Linked DNA regions of Homo sapiens: all the other regions are linked to region 6. The links are contacts of gene promoters, found by promoter capture Hi-C in blood cells and fetal thymus (Javierre and others, 2016). All regions are on one chromosome and are shown on one strand. The core of a region is centred on a gene start or on the middle of the fragment in contact, and the rest is flanking DNA. Distances in the headings are between cores, read along the strand shown.

The links. Contacts are between HindIII fragments. The CHiCAGO score rates a contact against its expected background, and 5 or more counts as called.
Region 1: a contact is called between the fragment with the promoter of CEACAM5 here and the fragment with the promoter of CYP2B6 in region 6, in 13 of 17 cell types (activated CD4 T cells, naive CD8 T cells, monocytes and 10 more). The highest score is 12.6, in activated CD4 T cells.
Region 2: a contact is called between the fragment with the promoter of TTC9B here and the fragment with the promoter of CYP2B6 in region 6, in 5 of 17 cell types (erythroblasts, total B cells, naive B cells and 2 more). The highest score is 7.3, in erythroblasts.
Region 3: a contact is called between the fragment with the promoter of CEACAM7 here and the fragment with the promoter of CYP2B6 in region 6, in 8 of 17 cell types (total B cells, neutrophils, activated CD4 T cells and 5 more). The highest score is 12.1, in total B cells.
Region 4: the fragment with the promoter of HIPK4 here is called in contact with the fragment with the promoter of CYP2B6 in region 6 in 6 of 17 cell types (naive B cells, neutrophils, total CD4 T cells and 3 more); the score reaches 9.0 in naive B cells.
Region 5: a contact is called between the fragment with the promoter of CEACAM4 here and the fragment with the promoter of CYP2B6 in region 6, in 5 of 17 cell types (total B cells, naive B cells, activated CD4 T cells and 2 more). The highest score is 12.1, in total B cells.

The regions. Positions count from the first base shown.
Region 1 is chr19:41,707,135-41,709,875 of GRCh38, forward strand. It overlaps CEACAM5 (CEA cell adhesion molecule 5), which reads left to right and starts at 1,492. Exons shown (of 10, transcript NM_004363.6): 1 at 1,492-1,661; 2 at 2,546-2,741. The coding sequence starts at 1,598. The HindIII fragment of the contact is 18,236 bases long and covers 1-2,741 here.
Region 2 is chr19:40,217,011-40,219,710 of GRCh38, forward strand. It overlaps TTC9B (tetratricopeptide repeat domain 9B), which reads right to left and starts at 1,374. Exons shown (of 3, transcript NM_152479.6): 1 at 945-1,374; 2 at 177-359. The coding sequence starts at 1,371. RefSeq lists enhancers at 242-832, 2,411-2,700. The HindIII fragment of the contact is 9,686 bases long and covers 1-1,757 here.
Region 3 is chr19:41,686,944-41,689,643 of GRCh38, forward strand. It overlaps CEACAM7 (CEA cell adhesion molecule 7), which reads right to left and starts at 1,327. Exons shown (of 5, transcript NM_001291485.2): 1 at 1,159-1,327; 2 at 1-278. The coding sequence starts at 1,222. The HindIII fragment of the contact is 5,666 bases long and covers 1-1,482 here.
Region 4 is chr19:40,388,746-40,391,445 of GRCh38, forward strand. It overlaps HIPK4 (homeodomain interacting protein kinase 4), which reads right to left and starts at 1,436. Exons shown (of 4, transcript NM_144685.5): 1 at 693-1,436. The coding sequence starts at 1,157. RefSeq lists enhancers at 789-1,338, 1,339-1,888. The HindIII fragment of the contact is 16,517 bases long and covers 1-2,700 here.
Region 5 is chr19:41,625,824-41,628,523 of GRCh38, forward strand. It overlaps CEACAM4 (CEA cell adhesion molecule 4), which reads right to left and starts at 1,251. Exons shown (of 7, transcript NM_001817.4): 1 at 1,077-1,251; 2 at 1-137. The coding sequence starts at 1,140. The HindIII fragment of the contact is 7,709 bases long and covers 1-2,700 here.
Region 6 is chr19:40,989,864-40,992,563 of GRCh38, forward strand. It overlaps CYP2B6 (cytochrome P450 family 2 subfamily B member 6), which reads left to right and starts at 1,419. Exons shown (of 9, transcript NM_000767.5): 1 at 1,419-1,613. The coding sequence starts at 1,443. RefSeq lists promoters at 1-1,458, 1-1,424 and a cis regulatory region at 1,161-1,184. The HindIII fragment of the contact is 6,148 bases long and covers 1-1,672 here.

The DNA.
Region 1 (2,741 bases), core at 242-2,741, 720 kb after region 6:
GATCTCCAGGACAGCTCAGTCTCTCACAGGCTCCGACGCCCCCTATGCTGTCACCTCACAGCCCTGTCATTACCATTAACTCCTCAGTCCCATGAAGTTCACTGAGCGCCTGTCTCCCGGTTACAGGAAAACTCTGTGACAGGGACCACGTCTGTCCTGCTCTCTGTGGAATCCCAGGGCCCAGCCCAGTGCCTGACACGGAACAGATGCTCCATAAATACTGGTTAAATGTGTGGGAGATCTCTAAAAAGAAGCATATCACCTCCGTGTGGCCCCCAGCAGTCAGAGTCTGTTCCATGTGGACACAGGGGCACTGGCACCAGCATGGGAGGAGGCCAGCAAGTGCCCGCGGCTGCCCCAGGAATGAGGCCTCAACCCCCAGAGCTTCAGAAGGGAGGACAGAGGCCTGCAGGGAATAGATCCTCCGGCCTGACCCTGCAGCCTAATCCAGAGTTCAGGGTCAGCTCACACCACGTCGACCCTGGTCAGCATCCCTAGGGCAGTTCCAGACAAGGCCGGAGGTCTCCTCTTGCCCTCCAGGGGGTGACATTGCACACAGACATCACTCAGGAAACGGATTCCCCTGGACAGGAACCTGGCTTTGCTAAGGAAGTGGAGGTGGAGCCTGGTTTCCATCCCTTGCTCCAACAGACCCTTCTGATCTCTCCCACATACCTGCTCTGTTCCTTTCTGGGTCCTATGAGGACCCTGTTCTGCCAGGGGTCCCTGTGCAACTCCAGACTCCCTCCTGGTACCACCATGGGGAAGGTGGGGTGATCACAGGACAGTCAGCCTCGCAGAGGACAGAGACCACCCAGGACTGTCAGGGAGAACATGGACAGGCCCTGAGCCGCAGCTCAGCCAACAGACACGGAGAGGGAGGGTCCCCCTGGAGCCTTCCCCAAGGACAGCAGAGCCCAGAGTCACCCACCTCCCTCCACCACAGTCCTCTCTTTCCAGGACACACAAGACACCTCCCCCTCCACATGCAGGATCTGGGGACTCCTGAGACCTCTGGGCCTGGGTCTCCATCCCTGGGTCAGTGGCGGGGTTGGTGGTACTGGAGACAGAGGGCTGGTCCCTCCCCAGCCACCACCCAGTGAGCCTTTTTCTAGCCCCCAGAGCCACCTCTGTCACCTTCCTGTTGGGCATCATCCCACCTTCCCAGAGCCCTGGAGAGCATGGGGAGACCCGGGACCCTGCTGGGTTTCTCTGTCACAAAGGAAAATAATCCCCCTGGTGTGACAGACCCAAGGACAGAACACAGCAGAGGTCAGCACTGGGGAAGACAGGTTGTCCTCCCAGGGGATGGGGGTCCATCCACCTTGCCGAAAAGATTTGTCTGAGGAACTGAAAATAGAAGGGAAAAAAGAGGAGGGACAAAAGAGGCAGAAATGAGAGGGGAGGGGACAGAGGACACCTGAATAAAGACCACACCCATGACCCACGTGATGCTGAGAAGTACTCCTGCCCTAGGAAGAGACTCAGGGCAGAGGGAGGAAGGACAGCAGACCAGACAGTCACAGCAGCCTTGACAAAACGTTCCTGGAACTCAAGCTCTTCTCCACAGAGGAGGACAGAGCAGACAGCAGAGACCATGGAGTCTCCCTCGGCCCCTCCCCACAGATGGTGCATCCCCTGGCAGAGGCTCCTGCTCACAGGTGAAGGGAGGACAACCTGGGAGAGGGTGGGAGGAGGGAGCTGGGGTCTCCTGGGTAGGACAGGGCTGTGAGACGGACAGAGGGCTCCTGTTGGAGCCTGAATAGGGAAGAGGACATCAGAGAGGGACAGGAGTCACACCAGAAAAATCAAATTGAACTGGAATTGGAAAGGGGCAGGAAAACCTCAAGAGTTCTATTTTCCTAGTTAATTGTCACTGGCCACTACGTTTTTAAAAATCATAATAACTGCATCAGATGACACTTTAAATAAAAACATAACCAGGGCATGAAACACTGTCCTCATCCGCCTACCGCGGACATTGGAAAATAAGCCCCAGGCTGTGGAGGGCCCTGGGAACCCTCATGAACTCATCCACAGGAATCTGCAGCCTGTCCCAGGCACTGGGGTGCAACCAAGATCACACAAATCCCTGCCCTCATGAAGCTCATGCTCTCATGGGGAGGAAGACAGACATACAAAGAGATCTAGAATGTGAGGTCAGGTGTTGACAAGAGCCCTGGAGGGAATAGAGCAGGGAAAGGTCAGAAAAGGAAGACCCAGGGTCTCTAGAGGAGGTGTCAGGGAAGGGATCTCCCAAGAATGCCCTGATGTGAGCAGGACCTGAAGGCAATGGGGAGGGAGCCGTGAAGACCCCTGGAAAAGCAGATTCCACACAGGGAAATGCCAAGGTCAGAGGTGCTAAGGAAATAGGAGACACACTGCTGACCTTGACCTAGTAGGACACACACACACACACACACACACACACACTCACTCACTCCAGGGCTGGGGGATGAAGAGACCTGCTCAGGACCCAGGACCCCATTTTTCCACCCTAATGCATAGGTCCCAATATTGACCGATGCTCTCTGCTCTCTCCTAGCCTCACTTCTAACCTTCTGGAACCCGCCCACCACTGCCAAGCTCACTATTGAATCCACGCCGTTCAATGTCGCAGAGGGGAAGGAGGTGCTTCTACTTGTCCACAATCTGCCCCAGCATCTTTTTGGCTACAGCTGGTACAAAGGTGAAAGAGTGGATGGCAACCGTCAAATTATAGGATATGTAATAGGAACTCA
Region 2 (2,700 bases), core at 124-2,623, 770 kb before region 6:
ATGAATGGATGAGTGGGCGTGTAGGGAGTAGGTGGGTGGCGCAGCCCTACCTAGAAGCAGCTCCGCGGGAGGAGGGCTCTGCTATTCTGCCCTGATCTTCCTGCCTGTTCCCTCCGCTGCAGCCCCTTTCCCCGCCCTGGGCCCAGCCCTCACCTCTGCCCCGCCCCGCCACTCACCTGTGGGTTCCCGGCTGCGGGCCTCCTGCAGGTAGCGCAGCGCGCGTGCGTAGTCGCCCAGGTGGTAGAAGGCAATGCCGGCACGGTAGGTGGCCTTGAAGTTGCCCTGCTGCTTCTCCAGTACCTTGAGACAGTACTCGCGCACGCGCTCGTAGTTTACCAGCTCCGACTGCAGCAGGCAAGCTGCGAGGGCCCCGCGGCCGGCACTCTCAGAGCCTGCTGGCACCCCCAGAACCCACCTGACTGCGAGGAGCCGAGGCTCCAGGCGGCAGGGAACCAGGCCTAAGGGATTGCTCCGGCAACCAGGGGCGCCAATCCGCTCGCCTATCGAAACAGGCGCAACTGCGCCGCTGCTAGGGGGCGCCAAAACACGGACAGGCGCCACTGGGCGATCCACCCAGAGCTGTCGGTGGGCAAGAGCACTAAGGCCCCGCGCGGGGGCGAGGGCCGGGACCTCGAGAGCCTGGCTCAGGGCAGACTTCCTCACCTTGGGTCCACGTGCGGCCAGGGGGTGGAAAGAATGACTCAGGGGAAGCGAGGCCCTGAATACCCGACCCAAAGACCATTTCCTGCATCCCAGCTCCCTCCAGCCACAGACCCCTGTCATCCCCTACCCCTAATCCCTTTCCTTGATCAAGCTCTGAAGGCTCCCCCAGAAGCCCACAGCCCTGGACCCTTCAGCCCCAGGGCCCCTGGCCCCCAAGTCGCCAAGCTCTCCCGATTGCCCCCTCCCCTCGTGCCCCATCCCCCCACCCCCCGACGGCGTACCCGTGAGGGAGTCGTAACACTCCACCTCCGTGCTCTCCACCAGGCGCCGCTGCTCCTCGCTGAGGCGCGCCGGCCCGGGGCTGCTGGTGGGCCCGGGGGCGGGGGCGGGCAGGCCGCTAGGGCGGGCCCCCTGCGCCGCCTTCAGCTGCAGCAGCGCTCGGTGGTACTTGCCGATGGCCTCCCGGAACTTCTTCTCTCGATAGCAGCGCTGGCCCTCTGCCTTGAACGCCACGGCGGCACGCAGGCTGCTGTCGAGCGCCGCGCCCAGGCTCCCCGACGGCTCTGGGGTAGGACCGGGACGAGCCGAGCCATGGCGGGAGCCCGAGCCTGGGCCCGAGCCCGGTGGGGAGAGGGCGGGAGGCGGGCGCGGCGGAGGCTCCGGGGCAGCGCTGAGCATCAGCACCGGGGACAGCGCGCCGCGCTGCATTGTGGGAAACTCCTGCCGCCGCCGCTGCAGCTACCGCATCGCCCCCCGCGGGGCTGGTCCCCACCCTTTCTCCGCCCCCTCACCTCCGGCAGCCGACTCCGGCTGCCCCCTATGGGTCTAGGGAAACCCCTCGAGACTTCCCCCATGCTCACTCTCAAATTAACCAAGTCCTAGTTCTCCAGCCCGCCCCCCGAATTGTTCCCATTCCCCTTACCCTCCCCAACCTCCTGCCTGCTCTCCTCCCCGGTGCCCAAAGCTCCCGAAGATTTCTAGAAGGAAAGGACGAGCCTGGGGGAAAGAGCAGGAAGACATCAGCCTCACGGAAAGCTGGCTCTCAGCCCACTGGCCATTTGGCATATCGAATGAGAACACAGGATTTGGACCCAAGCTTCCCAAATTCAAATCCCTGCTTACTTTCTCACTAGTGGTATGACTTAGACAGCTCGCTTAAACTACCTGGAACTCTGTATCCTCATCAGTAACATGGCACAATAATATCACCTTTAGGGCCAGTCGAGGTGGCTCACGCCTGTAATCCCAGCACTTTGGGAGGTCGAGGTGGATGGATCGCTTGAGGTCAGAAGTTTGAGACCAGCCTGGCCAATATGGCAAAACTCCGTCTCTACTAATATACAATATATACAAAATTTTTGTATATATACACAAAAATTAGCCTGGTGTGGTGGCGTGCACCTGTAGTCCCAGCTACTCGGGAGACTGAGGCAGGAGAATCACTTGAACCTGGGAGGCAGAGGTTGCAGTGAGCCGAGATTGTGCCACTGCACTCCAGCCTGGGTGACAGAGGGAGATGCCGTCTCAAAAAAGGAAAGGAAAGGAAAGGAAAGGAAAGGAAAGGAAAGGAAAGGAAAGGAAAGGAAAGGAAAGGAAAGGGGAAAGGGGAAAGAGGAAAGAGAAAAAAGGAAAGGAAAGGAATTAAAAATAATACCACCTTTGGGATTCATCTGTTAATTTATGAAACAAATATTCACTGACATCCTTTCTGTGCCCAGCTCTGTGCTGGATGATGCTGGGACATAGCAGACACTGCGTGAGCTTCAGACCCTACTCTCACTGGGCCCCAGTTCAGTGGGAAGACAGACCAGTGACCAGACAGTGACAGCCCTGAGCAGGCTAGCCTGGGAAGCACAGGCAGAGGGGTCGGGGCCGAGGTGGAAGAGGCACAGGCAGAGGGGTCGGGGCTGGGATGTGGGAGGTACCTGCCCTGGGCTGAGGTGGTGATAAAGTCTTCCTGGAGGAGGGAATAACTCTAAAAACAAGAGAGATCTCCTTCTTGCCCTCATCCAGCTCGGCTGTCTATGGGGGAAAACA
Region 3 (2,700 bases), core at 77-2,576, 700 kb after region 6:
GGTGACGTTCTGGATCAGCAGGGTTCCATTGGGGTATATTGTCTCTCGACCGTTGTGTGCGGGCCCTGGGGCATTTTCTTGACTTATATTTTTTACATATCCTATAATTCGATAGTTGGCATGCACCCTTTCCCCTTTGTACCAGTTGTAGCCATAAAGATTCTGGGACTCATTATGGACTACTAGAAGGACCTCCTTCCCTTCTGCGACATTGAACGGCACGACATCAATATTGGTCTGGGCACTGTTTGGCAGGTTCCAGAAGGTTAAAAGCGAGGCTAGGAGGGGGAGAGAACATCAGTCAATATTGGGACCTATGTATTGGGGTGGAAAGATGGGGCCCTGGATCCTGAGCAGGTCTCTTCACCCACCCCCATCTTGAAGTAAGTGTGTGTGTGTGTGTGTGTGTCCTACTGGATCAATGTCAGCAGCATGTCCCCTATCAGCACCTCTGACCTTACATTTCCCTGTTCGGAATCCTCTTCCCCAGGGATCTGCAGGGCTCCCTCCATACTGCTGGACCTGCTTACATCAGGGCATCCTTGGGAGACCCCTTCCCTGACACCTTCTCTAGAAGCCCTGGGTGTTCCGTTTCTGACATTTCCCTGCTCTGTTCCCTTTAGAGCTCTTGTCAACACCTGGCTTCACATTCTAGATCTCTTTGCCTGTCTGTCTTCTGCCGCATGAGAGCGTGAGCTCTGTGAGGGCAGGGACTTGTGTGAACTGGATTGCACCCCAGTGCCTGGAACAGGCTGCAGGCTCCAGTAGATGAGTTCATGAGAGTTCCCAGGGCCCTCCCTCCACATCCTGGGGTTTATTTTCCAATGCCTGAGGTTGGTGGCTAGGGACAATGTTTTATGCCCTGGTTATGTTTTTATTTGAAGCGTCACATGATATAGTTATTATTATCATATTTCAAAATGTAGCAGCTAGTGATGATTAACCAGGAAAAGAGAACATGTGAGATTTTCTTGACCCTTTCCAATTCCAGTCCAATGTGATTTTCCTGTTCTGGTTTCCTGTCCCTGTCTGGTGTCCTCTCCCAAAGGACTTCAACAGAAGCCCTTTGTCCCCTCTCAGAGCCCCGTCCTCCCAAGGAGACCCCAGCCAGTCTCTCTGGCCCTCCTCCCACCCACTCCCAGGAAGTCCTCCCCTCACCTGTGAGCAGGAGCCCCTGCCAGGGAATGCACACTCTGTATGGACAGGCTGAAGGGGACCCCATGGTCTCTGCTGCCTGCTTGTCCTCTGTGGAGAAGAGCTTGGGCTCCAGGAACTCTCTTGTCAGGGCTGCTGTGACTGTCAGCTCTGCTGTCCTTCCTACCTCTGTGCTGAGCCTCCTCCCAGGGCAGGAGCACTTTCCAAGATCACATGGTCCAGGGGTGGGGTCTCTGCTCAGGAGTCCTCTGTCCCCTCCCCTCTCATTCCTGCCTCTTTTGTCCCTCTTCCTCTTTCCCTTTTGTCTATATTCAGTTCCCGATACAAAGCTTTGAGTAGCAAGGCTGATGGACCCCTGTCCCCTGGGAGGACAACCAACCTTTCCCAGTGCTGACCTATGCTGTGTTCTGGCCTTGGGTCTGTCACACCAGGGGGATTATTTCCCTTGTGACAGAGAAACCCAGCTGGGCCTTGGGTTTCTGCTGGGATGATGCCCAGCAGGAAGGTGACAGAGGTGGCTCTGGGGGATAGAAAGGGGCTCACTGGGGGATGACTGGGGAGGGACCAGCCCTCTGTCTCCAGTGACCCAGGCACAGAAACCAAGGCCCAGGGGTCTCAGGAGGAGCTACAGCTCCTGGGTGTGGAGGGAGGTGTCTGGTGTGTCCTGGGAAGAGAGCTGTGGTGGAGGGAGGTGTGTGGCTCTGAGCTCTGCTGTCCTTGGGGAAGGCTTCAAGGAAACCCTCCCTCTCCCTGTCTTTTGGATGTGCTGTGGCTCAGGTCCTTTCCATGTTCTACCTGACCTGGAAGCCTCTGTCTGGCTGACAGTCCTGTGGTCACCCCGCCTTCCCCATGGGTGGTGCCAGGAGGGAATGGGGAGCTGCACAGAAACCCCTGGCAGAGCGGGGTCTTCAAAGGCCCCAGGAAGGAAGAGGTGGGACACAGCAGGAACGCGTGAAAGACAAGAAGGGTCTGTTGGAGCAAGGAATGGAAACCAGGCTCCACCTTCACCACCTTAGCAAGGCCAAGTTCATGTCCAGGGGAATTACAGCTGACCTTCGAACACACAGATTTGAACACACAGGTCCACTTACATGTCGATGTTTTTTTGTTTGTTTGTTTGTTTGTTTGATTTTTGTTTTTTGTTTTTTGTTTGTTTGTTTTTTGCTTTTTTTTTTTTCCTGAGACAGAGTCTCACTCTGTTGCCCATGCTAGAGTGCAGTGGCACGATCTCAGCTCACTACAACCTCCACCTCCCGGGTTCAAGTGATTCTCCTGCCTCAGCCTCCCAAGTAGCTGGGACTATAGGCACCCGCCACCACGCCTGGTTAATTTTTGTATTTTTAGTAGAGGCGGGGTTTCACCATGTTGGCCAGGCTGGTCTCAGACTCCTGACTTCAAATGATCCACCCACCTCAGCCTCCCAAAGTGCTGAGATTACAAGCATGAGCTGCCATGCCCAGCCACATGCAGATGTTTTAAATTAAAAGTTGCACTGAGTGTGTCCCCTCCTCTTGCCTCCCCTCCACCTCTTCTACCTCTGCCATC
Region 4 (2,700 bases), core at 186-2,685, 600 kb before region 6:
AACTCAAAAGCAGACAGAGGACTGGGCATGGTGGCTCACACTTGTAATTCCAGCACTTTGTTGAGGCCAAGGTGGGCAGATTGCTTGAACTCAGGACTTTGAGACCAGCCTGGGCAACATGATGAAATCCTGTTTCTACCAAAAAACACAAAAATTGGCTGGGCGTGGTGGCTCACGCCTGTAATCCCAGCACTTTGGGAGGCTGAGGCAGGTGGATCACAAGGTCAGGAGTTTGAGACCAGCCTGGCCAACATGGCGAAACTCCATCTCTACTAAAAATACAAAAATTAGCCGGGCATGGGTGGCGGGCACCTGTATTCCCAGCTACTCAGGAGGCTGAGGCAGGAGAATCGCTTGAACCCGGGAGGCGGAGGCAGTGAACCAAGATCATGCCATCATCACCCCGTCTCTGATAAGTACAAAAAAAAAATTAGCTGGGCGTGGTGGCGCATCCCTGTAATCCCAGCAACTCGGGAGGCTGAGGCAGGATAATCACTTGAACCCAGGAGGCGGAGTTGCAGTGAGCTGAGATTGTGCCACTGCACTCAAGCCTGGGTAACAGAATGAAACTCCGTCTCAAAAATAATAATAATAATAATTTTAAAAAATTAAAAAAAAAATCTAGGGCTGGAAGAAGCTGGGAAAAAGACAAGGAACTAGGGACGCAGCCACCCTAGACGACCCCTACTCACCTTGACCCTGAAGGGGCAGCGGGTCTGGTCCACCAGCATGATGTTCTCAGGCTTGAGATCAGCGTGGATGATAGCCAGCTCCTTGAGCCGGGCCAGGGCTGTGAGCACCTGCAGGGTGACTGTACGGATGTGGCGGGCGGGGAGGGGCGCGAAGTTGTTCTCCTTCTGGAACTCGAAAAGGTTTTGCTCCAGCAGCTCAAAGACCAGGTAGAACTTGAGGGCGTCATGGAAGAACTCAAGGAAGCGGATGACGTGGGCCTCTTCAGGGTCTAGGCCTCGCATGCAGTGCAGCAGCTTCAGCTCGTTCTTGATGATGCGGTTGCGGTAGGCGTCATTCTTGAGGATCTTGATGGCCACCATCTCGCCCGTGCTCCGCCGCCAGCCCTTGGCTACCTCCCCGAAGGTCCCCTTGCCCAAGACCTCGATGATGTCGTAGCAGTCAGTCTCCGACTGGATGGTGGACATGGTGCCGCTGCTGCCAGACACCGCCCTGCCCAGGCCCCTGTACCACTGGCTCTGCCGCCCAGGCCTCCCGCCTGGCTGCTGACACAGCAGGCCCCCCAGTGGGGGAAAGAGAACCGCACTCGTGTCTCCTCCTATGAGGTTGGCCCCTGCTTCCCTGGCACCCCCAAACCCCCAGGCCACACTGTCAGTCTGCCAGGGGCTGCACCCCTCCCCAGAAACCCTCCTGGCTTGGGATGAGGGGCCCCAGGCCCCACCGAATGGGTTCCAGCGCTGTTGAGTGGCTCTGGTTCTGTTGTTGGAGACCTGAGCCCTGGCTGGAGTGGGGGTGGGGTACCAGGCTGGGCCCCCTCCCCCGCCCAGTGGCGGAATCTTGCAAAGACCAAACAGGTGAAGTGTTGACAGAGGGGGGTCTAATCGTGGGCCTTGGGCATACAGGAATGGGGATAAGGCAGGAGTGAGGAAAGGTGGGCTTCTTGAGCTTGGGAGATGTGATGTGTGTGTGTCTGTGTTCAGAAAACTCCTGTCCCAGTCTGTGGCTACTGTGGGGTGAGGTTGTAAAAGGCCCTGAATGCCAGGCTAAGGAGTTTGGATTCTGTTCTGAGGGCACTGGGGAGCCACAGAAGGGCTTTGAGCAGGGGAGGGCAGGGTCAGATATGAGTGTCAGAAAGTTACTGTATGAAAAGGGATAGGTTGGAGCGGGTAAGAGTGGAAGCCCCAAGCCAGGGAAAGAGTCCAGGACAGGGCACAGATGGGAGAGGTTGGGGAGGAGAGGGCGAGGCCAATGGATGAGACACTCAAAAGGCCAGGAGAAGCAGCCGTGAGACCGACGGTTTGAGGGAAAGGCGGGAGCTGTCTAAGAACGGGCCTAGGGCTCTGGGATGAAGGGGCAGTCCCCGAGAAATGGACATGGATAAGAAGCAGCTTGGGGGAGATGTTGAGGCCAAATTAGAAAATGTATTTATTTTTGGCTGGGTGCGGTGGGTCACGCCTGTAATCCCAGCACTTTGGGAGGCCAAGGAAGGCAGATCATAAGGTCAGGAGATCGAGACCATCCTGGCTAACACGGTGAAACTCTGTCTCTACTAAAAATACTAAAAATTAGCCAGGCATAGTGGAGGGCGCCTGTAGTCCCAGCTACTCGGGAGGCTAAGGCAGAAGAATAGCTTGAACCCGGGAGGTGGAGGTTGCAGTGAGCCGAGATTGCACCACTGCACTCCAGCCTGGGTGACAGAGCGAGACTCCATCTCAAAAAAAAAAAAAAAGTGTTCATTTTTATTTATCTTTTTAATTTTTTGTAGAAATGGGGTCTCACTATGTTGTCCAGGCTGGTCTCAAGTGATCCTCCTGGCCTCAAGTGATCCTCCTGCCTCAACCTTCCAAAGTGCTGGGATTGTAGACATGAGCCACCACTCCAGCCAGATTAGAATATTTAACAGCGGGCCGGGCTCGGTGGCTCATGCCTGTAATCCCAGCACTTTGGGAGGCTGAGGCAGGTGGATCACCTGAGGTCGGGAGTTCGAGACCAGCCTGACCAACATGGAGA
Region 5 (2,700 bases), core at 1-2,500, 640 kb after region 6:
CCAATAATAGGCTTGAATAGTTTCTGAAATATTGCAGGCCAGTAGAAGAACATCCTTTCCCTCTGCAGCACTGGACGGCAGGGCTTCAATAGTGAACTGGACAGTGGTGGGCGGGTGCCAGAAGGTTAAAAGTGAGGCTAGGAGGTGAAGACAGCATCAGTCAATACTGGGACCTATGGAGTGGGATGGAAAGATAAGGCCCTGGGTCCTCAGCAGGTCTCCTCATCCCTCAGCCTTGGAGTGTGTGTGTGTGTGTGTGTGTGTGTGTGTGTGTGTGTGTGTGTGTGTGTGTGTGTGTGTGTCCCTGGGTCAGCAGCATGACCCCCATTCCTTCAACAGCTTGGACCTTGGCATTTCCCTGGTGGAATCTTCTTCCCCAGGGGTCTGCACGGCTCCCTCCCCACTGCCCTCAGATCCTGCTCACATCAGGGTGTTTTTGGGAGACCCCTCCCCTGACACCTCCTCTAGAGACCCTGGGTCTTCCCTTTCTGACCTTTCCCAGCTCTGTTCCCTCCAGGGCTCTTGTCAGCACCTGACCTCACATTCTAGATCTCTTTAGGTGTTTGTCTTCCTCCCCATGAGAGCGTGAGCTCTGTGAGGGCGGGGACTTGTGTGATCTTGGTTGCACCCCAGTGCCTGGCACAGGCTGCAGACTCCTGTAGATGAGTTCATGAGCATTCTCAGGGCCTCCAAGTCCTGAGGTTTATTTCCCAGTGTCTGAGGTTGTTGGCTAAGAGCAGTGTTTTATGCCCTGGTTATGTTTTTATTTGAAGTGTCATCTGGTATAGTTATTATCATTTTTCAAAATGTAGTGGCCAGTGATGATTAACCAGGACGAGAGAACACTTGAGATTTTCCTGCCTTTTACCAATTCCAGTTCACTGAGATTTTCCTGTTGTGACCCCTGCCCCTCTCTGATGTTCTCTCCCTTATCCAGCCTCCAACAGAGGCCCTCAGTCCCCTCTCAGAGCCCCAGGAGACCCCAGCCAGAAGCCCTCTATCCCCTCCTACCCAAGAGACCCCAGTCAGTCTCTGTGCTCCCTCTTCCCACCACTCCCAGAGAGTCCTCCCCTCACCTGTGATCAGGAGCCCCTGCCAGGGCCTGTGCCCTCCACGGGGAGCGGCTGAGGGGGGGCCCATGGTCTCTGCTGCCTGCTTGTCCTCTGTGGAGAGGAGCTGGGCTCCAGGAACGCTCTTGTCAGAGCTGCTGTGACTGTCGGCTGTCGGGGCTGCTGACCTTCCTCCTTCTGTGCTGAGCCTCCTCCCGGGCAGAAGCACTTCCCAGGGCCAGGGGCAGAGGCGGGGCTCTTCCCAGGTCACCCCTCTGCCCCTCCCCTCTCATTTCTGCCTTTTTTGTCCCTCCTTCCCCTTTCTCTTCTGTGTACATTACAGTTTCCTAACCACACTTTGAGAAGCAGGGTTGGTGGAGTCCCCTGTCCCCAGAGAGGGTGACTTGTCACCCCTGCACTGACCCTTTGGGAATGTCACCACAAACAGAGGTACTCTGGGGTCTCCCAAACTTGGGGAACTGTTTCCTTTTGTGACACAGAGACCCAGCTGGGCCCCCAGGTCTCCTCATGCTCCCCAATACTCAGGGAGTGTGAGATGATACCCAGCAGGAAGGTGACAGAGGTGGCTCTGTGGGATAGAAAATGGGGGGCGACTACGGGGGGGACCAGTCCTCTCTCTCCAGTGTCACCAGCCTTGCCTCTGACCCAGGGACAGAGATCCAGGCCTGGGGGTCTCAGGAGGATCCCCAGCTCCTGGATGTGGAGGGAGGTGTCCTGCATGTCCTGGGAAGAGAGGACTGTGGTGGAGGGAGGTGGGTGGCTCTGGGTTCTGCTGTCCTTGAGGAGGGATTCAGGGAGATCCTCCCTCTCCGTTTCTGTTGGCTGAGCTGTGGCTTAGGGCCTGTGCATGTTCTCCCTTACCATCCCGGGTGGCCTCTGTCCTCTGTGAAGGTGATTGTCCTGTTGTCACTGTACCTTCCCCATGCATGATACCAGGAGAAAGTGGAGAACTGAGCAGAGAATCCTGGCAGAGCAGGATCCTCAGAGGCTCCAGGAAGGATCAGGAGAGACAGAGCAGGCACATGGGAGGGACTGGAAGGGCCTGCTGGAGCAAAGTATGGAAACCAGGCTTCACCTCCACCTCCTTAGCAAAGCCAGATTCCTGTCCAGGGGAATCCATTTCCTGTGTTGTCTGCGTGCAATGTTGCCCCTGGAGAGCAAGAGGAACCCTGTGGTAAAAGTCAGGGGCTTCCCCAGGGATGCTGACCAGGGTCCACGTGGTATGAGTTGGCCCTGGCCCCTGGGCAGAGGTGGGCTCTGACCTCCAGACTGCAGGGTCAGGTCATCCTTGGTCCTGTTCACTGTGGGTCCCCAGGATGTCCAACTCCATGCAGTGCAGGATGAGCTCAGGGAGAGGACGAGAGTTGTCCAGAGCACTCCTGGTCCTGATTTGGGAGAACTGTCCTGCAGGCGGATGGGCTGCCTCAGAAAGAGCCATCCGTCCCCAAGGTTTCAAAAGAAGGGCCCAGGGAGGTGTCTCTGGGGGTTTAGAGAGAGGGCACTGGCCTGGGAGGTGGTCCTCGGTGTGTTCTGTGTTCCTCCATCACAACACTGGGAGTTCCGCCTCCAGGTCATCTGTGTCCCTGTCTGTCACCTGCCCCAGGCCTCTCCACAGGGCCCAGGAGCTGGG
Region 6 (2,700 bases), core at 169-2,668:
ACTGGACTCAGTTTGCACACACCTGGAGCTCAAGAGTCTCCAGGGGGAAAACAGAGACACAAAGTCAGACAGAGAGAGAGCCAGAGAAATTTCCTGCACCGTGAAGATAGTCAGAGGCAGGGAAGAAACTCCTTAGCACTAGTTAGAGTGATCAGAAACCAAGAGGACCTGATCGCTGTACCTGCCAGGTCTCAGTTTCTGTCTCCTTCCAACTGACCACCTCTTCCTCTGAGACTCACCAGTTCTGCATCTCTTGCTCCTCCTTCTGTTTCTCCGACCACTTCCACCTGTGGCTGTCACAGAAGGGCGGATGAAGGAGGGGACACTGGAGATAGACTCAGCATCTGCAGGCTTCCAAAGAGAGGGGCTAGGAGATCCACCAACACACCAGCACAAATACACCAGCACACACAGATACACACAATTGGTTCATGTATTGCTAGGTTACAGTTTGCTATGCTACAAAGGCAGTAGGCCAAATTTGATTGAATTGAATAATTCCTTATTTTCATCAGCTTCTCCTTTTTTTTTTTTTTTTTTTTTTTTTGAGATGGAGTATTGCTGTGTCACCCAGGCTGGAGTGCAGTGGTGTAATCTTGGCTCACTGCAGCCTCCACCTCCCAGGTTCAAGTGATTCTCTTGCCTCAGCCTCCCGAGTAGCTGGGATTAAAAGTACCCACCATCACGCCCGGTTAATTTTTGTGTTTTTAGTACAGATGGGGTTTTGCCATGTGGGCCAGGATGGTCTCGAACTCTTGACCTCAATTGATCTGCCCCCCTCAGCTTCCCAACGTGCTGGGATTACAGGTGTGAGCCACCGCACCCAGCCAGCCTCTCAGTTTTGAACATGCACTACCACCACCTCCACAACACACAAATGTAAATGCACTTTCGTATATAAAACTGTATAAATACAAGGAAGCTCATACACATGCAAGGATACACACATAAGCACCCCCAGATTCAACCACAGAAATATACGCCAGTACATTTGCATAAATTCAAACACCCCTTTACATGTAAAAATCATATAAGCACATACAGGGATGCAAGCAGGCATGGACAAATGCATGCAAGCACAGACAAACAGACAAAGCTAAGTAAAAAAGTGCAAGCTCACCTATGCTTACAAAAATAGACATACATATACCCACAAACCCACACACCCACACATTCACTTGCTCACCTGGACTTTGATATCTCTACCACTGTATCCCTGCCAATATCTACAGAGTGGGTAAAGGGATAGGCATCAGGTCACTGGGTTGCCCAAGCAGGAAGTCTGGGTTCCCTAACAACTTTTTCTAAGCTAATGCTCCTGGATGATGATGAAAAAGGAGGTGGGGAATGGATGAAATTTTATAACAGGGTGCAGAGGCAGGGTCAGGATAAAAGGCCCAGTTGGAGGCTGCAGCAGGGTGCAGGGCAGTCAGACCAGGACCATGGAACTCAGCGTCCTCCTCTTCCTTGCACTCCTCACAGGACTCTTGCTACTCCTGGTTCAGCGCCACCCTAACACCCATGACCGCCTCCCACCAGGGCCCCGCCCTCTGCCCCTTTTGGGAAACCTTCTGCAGATGGATAGAAGAGGCCTACTCAAATCCTTTCTGAGGGTAAGACACAGACGAATGGGGTCTGAGGGTGAGCTGCTTCTTGCCTTGGTACTTGGGGAAGCTTCACCAAACAGAATGAGGCAGACTTCCAGAGTCAGGGGTGGCACGGGCATGGTTGGTGAGTACGGAGCATGGTGAAGCATGATGGGTGGTATTATTAGGAGAAAAGCATCAAATTAAATTTAGCAGAGTTTATTTGAGCAAAGAAGTGACTCATGAGTTGGACAGCTCCCTAAACCAGGAAAGACACCACACGGCAGTATGGTCAAGTGGTATTTACAGGCAGAAAAAGGAGGTGACATACAGAAACAGCCTGATTGGCCACAGATCACAGCTTGCCTTACTTGGTCACAATCTGAGCAGTTTGCAGCCTGTGTGGACTGAAAGCCCAGCTGCTCTGATTAGCCAACACTTGGCTACTTGTCACAAGAATATATTCATTTGGGCCAGGTGCAGTGGCTCATGCCTGTAATCCCAGTGCTTTTGGAGGCCGAGGTGGTGGATCACCTGAGGTCAGGAGTTCGAGACCAGCCTGGCCAACATGGTGAAACCTTGTCTCTACTAAAAATACAAATATTAGCTGGGCATAGTGATGCGTGCCTGTAATCTCAGCTACCCAGGAGGCTGAGGAAGGAGAATCACTTGAATCCAGGAGGCAGAGGTTGCAGTGAGCCAAAATCTTACCACTGCACTCCATCCTGGGTGACAGAGTGAGACTCCTTCTCAAAAAAAAAAAAAAAAAAAAGAATATACTCCCAAGTTAGGTTGCAGTTCACTCTACAGAGAGAGCTTTAGGTCAAATTTAATTTAATTAAACAATTCTCCCCTTTTGGTCAGCCTCAAAATTTTGAGATTGACCAAAACCTTGGGCATCAACATTACTTCTGTCACCATCATAATGGACTTGTCTGCTCTCAGTATGGAATTCACAATGGACAATGTCAACGTAGTTGAGTGATTCTTTACCTTTTCTTCATGTTTTTGTTGTTCCCACTGTAATGAGCCCACTGGATGTACAAAGAATGGCTGCATATGAGCATTTAAGACTCTTTTTTTTTCTGAGACAGGGCCTCACTCTGTCAGCCAG